Linked DNA regions of Homo sapiens: region 1 is linked to region 2. Evidence: promoter capture Hi-C in human tissues and cell types (Jung and others, 2019). All regions are on one chromosome and are shown on one strand. Each heading gives the region's core, a stretch centred on a gene start or on the middle of the fragment in contact. The rest is flanking DNA. Distances are from core to core; before and after follow the strand shown.

What was found. Contacts are between HindIII fragments. The study calls those that stand out against the background at their distance.
Region 1: a fragment that was not itself captured here is called in contact with the fragment with the promoter of DHRS4 in region 2 in 2 of the 25 tissues and cell types used here (H1 embryonic stem cells and lymphoblastoid cells).

What each region holds. Positions count from the first base shown.
Region 1 is chr14:23,606,029-23,611,538 of GRCh38, forward strand. No RefSeq gene overlaps it. Among named protein-coding and RNA genes, the nearest start is that of DHRS2, 28 kb to the right of the region's middle. RefSeq lists an enhancer at 161-370. The HindIII fragment of the contact is 3,253 bases long and covers 934-4,186 here.
Region 2 is chr14:23,950,146-23,955,249 of GRCh38, forward strand. DHRS4 (dehydrogenase/reductase 4) reads left to right here and starts at 3,625. Exons shown (of 8, transcript NM_021004.4): 1 at 3,625-3,771; 2 at 4,890-5,067. The coding sequence starts at 3,644. DHRS4-AS1 (DHRS4 antisense RNA 1) reads right to left here and starts at 4,967. Exons shown (of 2, transcript NR_023922.2): 1 at 4,603-4,967. RefSeq lists enhancers at 3,147-3,346, 3,957-4,086, 4,137-4,266. The HindIII fragment of the contact is 7,990 bases long and covers 1-5,104 here.

The sequences.
Region 1 (5,510 bases), core at 1,310-3,809, 350 kb before region 2:
GAAGCATTGCAAACAGAAGGCATGGCAGGAAGCCCACTTATGCTGAACACGCACAAAGTCAGTGTCCCAGTCTTTGCGTGTCCCATGGCTATACCAACACATCCCAGGGTTGTCTGCCTTTTGAGTTTTCCCCGTGGCATGACACTCCTAATTCATGTTTAGGTTGTGGCCAACTCTGACTCACAGCTTTTCTTCTATTATTCTTGTACTCAGCCACTTGAGCACCAACCTACACTTGTGGGATATGACTTTCTAGCTCTATTTTTAGAAGAGTAACATCATTCTGAGAATGGAGGGGTCATCTTGCAGTTTCTTCTCCCCATAGTTGTCATGGTCAATCTTTTACATGAAAATTAGATGTGTCACTTCTGTGTTCAAACCCACTGCTCAGAGTAACAGCTAAGTCCTCATCGTGACTCAAAGCCTAACCCTCTCTGAGTTAGTTCCTATCCCTCTCTTTCAGCCTATTTACTCCAGGTACACTAAGCCTCCTTGCTGTCCCTCGAACTATGCCAAACACTCTCCTACCTCCTGCTTCTGCCTTGGTTTTTCCCACTGCCTGGAACATTCTTCACTCTCACTTATTTAAGCCTCTGCTCACTTGTCAACTCTTCAGAGAGGCCATCCTGATATGGGCCAGAGAAAAAAATCACTCACATCCTGCACTCCCTGTCCCCCTCACCTTGTTGTATTTTTCTTCAGAGCACTTCTCAGCACCTGCCATTTTTATGTCTACTTGTTTATTACCTGTCTCTCCCACAAGAATATAAGCACCTTGAAGGCATTTTTTTAACTCACTGCTGTATCAATACCACCTAGAGTAGTGCCTAGCACACAGGTGGTGGTGAATAAATATTTGCTGGATTAATTAATGTCATGAAGACGTTTAAAACACCCACAATCCTCTGTGCTCACAAGACAGCTCTTGGAGGGGCATCCCTGGTAATTCACCTGTGCTTGCTTACCCACAAGAATATCTGCAGGAGCAGGGAACTTCAGCCAGTGCCCAGGTGTGTTCTGTAATCAGAGGCAGGGCCAGGAAAGTGCAGTGTAGGGAGGGAGAGAGTCAGGAGGGAAGGTGGCTACCCCCGGGTTCCATGTGTTTGCCAACTGGGAGGATTGACAGTCCTGACACGGGCAGAGCCATCTCCATGCTTCTCTCCTGCATCACAAGGGACTGCCTCAGACCCTGCCTCTCACAAACTCTCACAAGAGGAGGCTGTGTCTTGTCTGCCTCCAGCTCCCGGGCCCCTGCCACCCCCTGAGGATGACTTCTGGAAGTTCCTCAGCTCATCACCCTCTTCGCAGGCATCCTCTTCACCTCTCAGCAGTGGCAACTGCTGCTCCCCAGGACCTTCTTCCTGAGCTTCTTTTCCCTTCAGTGTGGGGACACTCCTAATTTGCCTCTTCAGTCTTTGACTTCTCCCTTTTGGCTTCCTTTTCTTCTTCCCCTCCCTAAAATGGAAGGATTTCTGTGTCAGTCAGAGTCCAAGCAGGAAAACGATTCCATGCAAGGCATTTCTTACAGAAGGGATGTATTCAGGGAATTGACTACTCCAGTGTTGGAGGGTTGGAAGGGCAAATGGAGATGCTGCAGTGACCAGATATGGTAACTACAGGAGTTCCTTCTCAGGGCTGGAGGGACAGAAGAGAAGAAGTGGGGCCACCAGAGCCTCCAGGCTCAGCCTTGCCTGGCCCATGTTCAGACCACAGAATGAGGATGCATTGTGATGGGGTTGAGCCTCTGGGGCGCTGGTATCTCCAGGAGGTGCAGTTCACCTGCTGCCAGGAGTGTCTGAAGAATTGGGAGCTAGCACGGGCAACCTATTGCCCATAGGCCAAATCCAGCTGCCACCTGTTTCTCCATGGCCCACGAGCTAAGAATGTTCTTCACATTTTGGCCAGGCACGGGGCTCACGCCTGTAATCCCAGCACTTTGGGAGGCCGAGGCGGGTGGATGGTCTGAGGTCAGGAATTCGAGACCGGTCTGGCCAATGTGGCAAAATCCTGTTTCTACTAAAAATACAAAAAAAAAAAAAAATTAGCCAGTCATGGTGGTGCACACTTGTAGTCCCAGCTACTTGGGAAGCTGAGGCAGGAGAGTTGCTTGAACCCGGGAGGCAGAGGTTGCAGTGAGACGAGATTGCGCCACTCCACTCCAGACTGGGTGACAGAGCAAGAGTTCATCTCAAAAAACAAGCAAACAAAAAAAGAATATTCTTCATATTTTAAAAATGGCTGAAAATAAAACCGAAAAGGAAGATATATCTCATGGCACATGAAAATTATAAAACACTCAAACTCCAGTGTCCATGAATAAAGTTTTATTGCAATGTGGTCATCCTTATTCATTTATATATTGTTTATGTCTGCTCTTGCAGTACAATGGCAGAGTTGAGGAGTTATAACAGAGACCATATGGCCTGCAAAGCTTAAACTACTTCATGTCCAGCTCTTTACAGAAAAAGTTTGCTAAGCCCTAGGCTAGAGTCCTCCTGGAGGGACATTGACAGGAGCTGGAAACAGGAGGAAAACCCTTCTCTCACCCTATGTCCTTCAGCCACGTCTCAGTGCCTCTTAGTAGCAGAATTGAATAGGAAGCCAGCTGGCAAGAGAGAGTCTGGGAAAGGCTGTTGGCAGTCCCTTGGCCCTCACACCACAGGGGAGGGTGGCATGGGCCCAAGAGGCAACAGGCAAACAGCACAACTTACAAGTATCTTATACTGGCCTTTTCCTCTTCTGTCTCTGCCCTCCCTCCCTTAGTAATCCTATCCACAGTCATGGCTTCTATCACATCTCTGTAGACAATGCACACATCCATGGCTCCATGCTTGAATTCTGTTATCAGTCTTGCATTTCTAACTGCCTTCTTGACAACTCCATTTAGAAGGCTTCCCTTCATCTCAAAGTCACCATGTCAATAGGTAGAATTCATATTTTCTATCAAGCTTGTTTCTTCTCCTCTGTTACCTATTTTTGTTGGCAATGCCACCATTGTCCCTGGCTTCATGTTTGGATCCTCTCTGTCTCTTTTCTCTCGTGTCAAAGCATTTAGAAAGACCAGATCTTTCTCTGTAAGACTTCGCAACTATTCTCTACTTTCCCTTCCCAGCACCATCACCTGGGGTTGTGCCACCATTACCTCTTGCCTGGATTATAGATATGACCTCATAATGGGTATTACCCTACACAAGTTTCATTCCAATTCCTCTCACACATAGTTGCCAGATTAATCTTCTGAATCATCAGATTCAAAGTCCTTTTGGTTTCCCTTTGTTTATGCATTGGCCAGAAATTCAAAATTTTATACAGTTCTGTATTAGTTCATTTTCACGCTGCTGATAAAACATACCCAAGACTGGGTGATTTATAAAGAAAAAGAGGTTTAATGGACTCACAGTTCCATATGGCTGGGGAGGCCTCACAGTCATGGCAGAAGACCAAGGAAGAGCAAAGGGACTTCTTACATGGTGGCAGGCAAGATAGAGAGCCATGCAAAAGGGGAAGCCCCTTATAAAAACATCAGATCTCGTGAGACTTATTCACTATCATGAGAACAGTATGGGGACATAGCCAAACCATGTCATTCTACTCCTGCGGTTTTGCAAGGTACAAAGTCCCTCCCGGCTGCTTTTATGGGCTGGTGTTGAGTGTCTGCGGCTTTTCCAGGTGCATGGTGCAAGCTGTTGGTGGATCTACCATTCTAGGGTCTGGAGGATGGTGCTCCACTAGGCAGTGCCCCAGTGGGGACTTTGTGTGGGGGCTTCAACCCTACATTTCCAGGCCCCGACTGCTGTGTATGGAAATGCCTGGATGTCCAGGCAGAAGTTTGCTGCAGGGGCAGGGCCCTCATGGAGAGCCTCTGCTAGGGCAGTGCAGAAGCGAGATGTGGGGAGGTACAATTCAAGATGAGTTTTGGGTGGGGACGCAGCCAAACCATATCAAGTCCCAGTGACTACAGTTTGGTTTTCCAAATTTGTTTCCTATTTCTTTCTTTCCTGTCCTCTTCCTTTCCAATACTTTCATATAGCCTCTTGTTCCTTCAGGTTCTGTGCACTTTATTTATACTCTCCCCTCTGCCAGAAATGTTTTTGGTACTTTTTAGGATTAGGTTAAGTTATGAGTGAGAGAAAACCCAGTGTAAGGGGCCCATTGAGGTTGCACCAGAGCCCCTGTGACCCGTTTAATCATCTCCCACAGCTTCTGCACATCGAGAGAAGCAGGGGCAGCCTTTAGCTGAACTAGGTAACAGCCTAGTTCCATTGTCTGAAATCTGGGCAAACTGTGAGGTGTAGTTTACACTCCAGAACTGACCTTTGGGACCAGGCTAAGGCTGGGGCTTTGCTGAAACATTCCCTTGCTTGTCCTCCTCCCTTCCCTGTCTTACTTTCCACACTCCCTTACTGGTTTCTCCTGGGAGCATTTTTTTAATTTTTATTTTTGAGACAAGGTCTCACTTTGCCACTAAGGCTGGAGTGCAGTGGCATAATCATAGCTCACTGTAACCTCAAACTACTATGCTCAAAGGAACTTCCTGCCTCAGCTTCCTGAGTAGCTGGGACTACAGGCACACATGACCTGATCAGCTAATTTTTAAATTTTTTGTAGAGACAGGGGTCTCACTATGTTACTCAGGCTGGTCTGAAACTTCTGGCCTCAAGCAATCCTCCTGTCTTGGTCTCCCAAAGTTCTGGGATTATAGATAGGAGCCATTGCTCCCTGCTGGGAGCATCTGTTTAATAAACTACTTGCACATAAAGCCTTGTCTTAGGATCTGCTGTGGTAACCCAACCTAAGACACTTGTAACAGTGGCTTAAACAAGACTGTAGCGGGCCTCATATCGTGCCTTCGTGATCAGACTGCCTCAACATTGTAGTCCACATCCTCAACATGTGCCTTCTGAGGCCAAAGATAGCTGCTTTGTCTCCAGTCATCAGAGTCATGTTCTAGACAGCAGGAGGGAGACAAAGAAAGGAGGTGGGCATGCTCCTTCCACTTGAGAACACCTCATGGAAGTTTCATCCCTGACTTCTCTATAACCTTTTATGCAGAACATGGTCAGGTAGCCGTGCCTGGCTGCAAGGGCAGCTGGGAAATATAGCCTTTATTCTCAGTGGTCAATTGCACAGCTAACATTTTGGAATATGATTACTGTGGAAGAAGAGGAAACAGACATTAGGAGACAACTTGTAGTTTCAGTTACATGCTCCTTCTCATCTCTGCCTGTCCAGAGTCTTCCAAACCCAGTGCAAATGCCACTTTCACCTCAAATCCTTCCTTGAGCTACTAGTTAAAAGTTATCACTCCCTCATGGCACTTTGTGTGCCCTTTCCTTGTGACACCGCAGTTTTTCTACCTGGCTTGTAGTTACTTAAATATGCCTTCCCCACAGGACTGTAGACATCTTTAGAGTAGAGGGCAAGCTTCAGTGAATTTCTGAGTTGAAAATTGAAATACTACAATCCCATACTCTGGAGAGTGTGGTTTTGGAGCCCGACCAATCTGGTTC
Region 2 (5,104 bases), core at 2,375-4,874:
CCTGGCCAACATGGTGACACCCCGTCTCTACTAAAAATACAAAAATTAGCTGGGTGAGGTGGTATGCACCTGTGGTCCCAGCTACTTGGGAGGCTGAGGCAGGAGAATCACTTGAACCCAGGAGGCAGAGGTTGCAGTGAGCTGAGATTGTGCCACTGCACTCCAGCCTGGCGACAGAGCAAAACTCTGTCACAAAGTAAAAAAAAAAAAAGAAGAAGAAGTTAAAATGCCACAGTCCTTGGTGGACTTAACAAAAGAAGATGAATGTGGGAATAAAGACAAAGACAAAAGAGTATTTTGGAAGAAGGGGTCAGGAGGCTCCTTGCTTCTAGTGAAGAAGGGCCCTGAGCTTCTATAGCCCTTTGTATTTATTGAGTAAAGGAGATAGGGAGAAGGGGGTAGTTGTCAGTCAGCTGCTTGGCTTAGTGCAGGCTTGCATGACTGCATTCTTTGAACAGTAGTCTCCAGATGTTCCTGTAGATAACCTCAAGGAGCACAGCACCAGGGAGTCATTGCCCTCAGCAAACCTTCTGGTAGCAGGCGCAGAAGTGAGTTTGCCCACATTCTGCATTCATGATAAACAGTTTGCTGTTAGATCATACAGCCTTCAGTGGAATGCTGAGTTGGTCACGACCCTCAGGCCTTTGGCTCCCTACATTAAAACACCCATTTCACCAGACTAAAAATATTCAATAAAATTTATAAAAAGCACTTAACGCTTGCCAGCATTTAGTAAGGAAGTGCTCAATAAATACTGTTAACACTCTTACTATTACTTTCTCTGCTTGGTAGTTGTCCTAACCCCACACCAGCCCTCCCACATTGCCTAATTCTGACTTGTGTCAGTGATGCAGGACTCGACTCAATCTAGGACAGCTATTGCAAAACGCAAGACTTAAATTCCACCCCAGGTGAAATCTCTTCTGGACCGCAGGCAGCCCTTGAAAAGGATGGGAGTAGTGCCCTCACTCATGAAGGCATTTGTCCCTCAAGATAGGCAGATGTTACCACCTCCATGTAAGAACAATCCCATTGCCTGTTACAGTTCCCATTTCAAAGAGATACTCCCACATATGCATGTATTTCCCTGAAAGATTTCCCGTTATTTATTTATTTATTTATTTATTTATTTATTTATTTATTTAGATGGAGTCTTTCATTCTGCTGCCCAGGCTGGAGTGCAATGGCATGATTTTGGCTCACTGCAACCTCTGCCTCCCACGTTCAAGCAATTCTCCTGCCACAGCCTCCTGAGTAGCTGGGATTACAGGCACATGCCACCAGGCCCGGCTGGTTTTTGTATTTTTAGTAGAGATGAGGTTTCACCATGTTGGCCAGGCTGATCTCGAACTTCTGACCACGCCCAGCTAATTTTCGTATTGTTAGTAAAGAGGATTACAGGTGTGAGCCACCATGCCCAGCCCAAGATTTCCTGTTCTTATCTCCAATAAGCGAGCTTGATGAGGAGTAGTGCTAGAGAGTCCCATACTTCTTGACTTCCTTCCATCCTTTTCTGCTCACAGGCCCCCTCCCTAATGTCCCCTGTGCTCTCCACAAAAGAAATAGTGCTAGAGGCCAAATAGCAACCCTGCCCACACAAGGAAGGGCCATGTAATGTTCACCAAGCACCCAAGCCACAATTCTCTCTTCCCAGAATCCTTTGCTCTTTGAAGTGTAGTCTTCCTCACCTTCCTGCCAACCTCAGCCCCTGAGTCCACCTGTCTACCTCTGAAGAGAAGGGAAAGAGAGATCAAACGCCCCCTGCAGGCCTGTCCCTTTGAACCAAGCCCTGAGAACCCCCGCAGCCGTCCTCCTGTGTACCCTCCCCCAGCCGCACACACAGATGGAGAGCCCTGGGAAGGGTTCCCACAGTGCGTTAGCTCCAAACAGTGCAAGAGGACAAGCAGTGTGGCGCTTCCAGCCTCTGTCAATAATTCATGAGGCTCAGACTGAGGAGCACCAGTCAGAGTCAGCCTTCCCTGGACATGGGGAAAATTATACTGAAGCTCTCCTGTCTCATCGGGATCTGCTGAGTAGCAAAGCAGAGTATTGCAGCTGTAACTTCTTGGCTGAGGAAAACACTAGAATTCCAGTGCAGGCCGTTCTATTACTTGCTCACCATACACCCCCTTTTGAATGTTGAAACCCTTTTTCAGCTGCTCAGCTTACCTGCACATATACTAAATGAATCTTGAGCAAACATGAATTCTATTCAAAAGTCATGCCTAGAACTGGATTTCACAAACCAGGATTCTTTCCCCTTTAATTGTAGGGACTGGCATAAGGCTGCCAAACTGGTGATTTCACCAATAACACATCTCTAAACCTACCCATCTGCTTTCATCATCTTTTCTAAAAGAAAACACTAACACACACACACACACACAAAAAGAAGCAAACGTATACTCCACAATAAAGGACTGTTAAATAAGCTTAGCTTTATGAAACTCACTGTAATTGTTTCCTTTTCTCATTTTGCCTTGAACTAGTGAAAACGCTGCCATGAACCAGCACTGCTTCTCAGTCTGGCTTTGGAGGCCAGTGGGTTAAACCAATTCAGATGCTTGCATTTGGGTCTGTTGGGGCCTTTCTACACTGTACCATAAGCCATCCAGATTTCTTCATTCTCCCGGAAACCCAGGAGGGAGATCATTTCAGCCCACTTGGCAGAAGTGCAGACTGAAGTCTTGGACACAGAATTTATAGCTGGCAAGGACTTTATTCATCATCCATACCCTCAGTAATTTACAGATGAAGAGTCTGGCCCAGGGCACCAATAATAATCACTACATGGTGGCAGTAACTACTATGTGCTTAGTAGCTTACAGTTCATAAAGAGATTTTGCATTCAACAAATATTTATTGAACTAAGATGGCGGCTAAGACCTGGGGACAGAGTGGTTAGGGAGAACTTGAGTGCCCCGAGTTCTTTGCATTTCCACCACTGCTTGAGGGACTGTCCAGCCTCCTCGCTACCACTTAGCCCCTGTAAAGGAGGAAGTCCCTTTGTCAACGGACATGAGAATGCTGTTTGGCCAATGACCATAGTCTGCCCTCCAGGGCCCGTGAAGATGGAAGAGACCTTGGGCAGAGTGAAGGGCAGTGCCAGGCCTGGCGCAGCTACTCCCTATCACGTCTCTCTCCCAGGCTCTTCCAGCCTCACCTGGTGGACTCCATGGCGACCACAGGCCTCACCTCCATGGGCAGTCTCAAAACATTTGCCCTCCTGTGGGCTGTCACACACATAGACCCAGACTTTCTTGGAGAAGGAATTCTGAAGAAGCAAAAGCAACCAACTCAAAACCCCCACTTCCCAGAGAAGAAAAGGTGGGCAAGCAGATGCAGAAAGGCAGCAGCCAAAGCCTGCGGGTTCCTGCAAGGGCCAGGGGAGGGGCGAGCCCTACAGGCAACTTGAACGGAGAGCTCACCCGCCAGCCCGGAAAGGCAAGCCCCAGTCAGGCGGAAGGTAGATGGTGGAGGGGCGCCGCGGCGGATGGAGGTGCCCAGGGCCACAGACCGCTCACAGCGGTACCGGGGCGGGGAGCAGGGCGGGCAGGGAATCGGCCCGCCCTTCGTCCTGCCCCTCGCCCTACTCTGTCACCGCCCCTGGGAAGAGTGGAACCCATACTTGCTGGTCTGATCCATGCACAAGGCGGGGCTGCTAGGCCTCTGTGCCCGGGCTTGGAATTCGGTGCGGATGGCCAGCTCCGGGATGACCCGCCGGGACCCGCTCGCAAATAAGGTGGCCCTGGTAACGGCCTCCACCGACGGGTGAGTGCTCCGGCCGGAGTTTCTGAGGCCCTGGCTGCCTGGAAACAGGCACTGGCCTCTCATCCTCGGCCTCCGGTGCCCCTGTCCTCAGACCTTACACGCTGCCAAAGTCTGGCCCTGGAAAAAAGGTAGCCACGTGGTCCGCCTGAAGCCACTCCGAATCCCCTAGCCCTGGACCCTCCCTTGCCAGCCCTCCTGTCCCTGCTACCTCTGGCACAACTGTGCCACCTCTGTGCAGCCCTATCGATCTAGTCTCCCCAGTGTTCTGGGCTGCCCCAGTCAACCAGCGCCACCTAGCGTCTGGGAAGACCAGAAACTGGAAATCCAAGGAAATCTGGATTTCAAAATACTATCCCACGGCCTCCAGCACTTTGAAAATGTACCAGACATTCTATTTGGGCACCGGAAAGTCCCCCGGAACCCCTCCCCCTTACCTAGATGGGACACCAGAGCCATATGTCGAGATTTTTGTTTAGGTCGGTACATCTGGGCCGACCTTGCCCAGCCTGTTTCTCACCCACCATTCTTGTCTATCCTGGTCCTCATTTCTACAGGACTTTGCTAGATGCCAGCTCTTCACAAAACTAAAATACAAATGTAGGTAAAATGCTAATAGCTGACAAATGCAAAATGTGTAACTCTTCCTCCCAAGGCAATATTTACATTTTTGACCGGAGACCATCTTTTCACATGCACCCCAAAAAATAACTAAGGATAGAATTTTGAGAATGATGTAGACGAGTAAGAAAGAAACCTGGGGGCAGGGCTGTTCTGAGTGAGACCCTCAAATCACGGAAGTGGCTGCTGCTGCAAACCCAGCTCATTTCTCACCTCTCAGTCCCAAGAGGGGATGAAGCCTGTCACCCATGGTGGGAACTGTAGAAAGTGATGTCAGTTCTTGGGAACTGAGGCTGTGGTCCAGGTCATAATAAAAACAAGTAAAGGAATGCCAAAAATGGCCATGCCATTAAGCCTGTTTTACACATAGTAGGCACACGTAGGGGTTATATAGAGAAAGAGCCAGAATTCAAACCCGGGCAGTCTTAACTTCAGAGCTCATACTGTCGACCTCTTCCCCTGCACAGGCCTTAGCAGTCTTTGTCTCTTTCTGCTCACAGGATCGGCTTCGCCATCGCCCGGCGTTTGGCCCAGGACGGGGCCCATGTGGTCGTCAGCAGCCGGAAGCAGCAGAATGTGGACCAGGCGGTGGCCACGCTGCAGGGGGAGGGGCTGAGCGTGACGGGCACCGTGTGCCATGTGGGGAAGGCGGAGGACCGGGAGCGGCTGGTGGCCACGGTGAGCTGCAGGGAAATGGGCACAGAGCCAGGAGGTG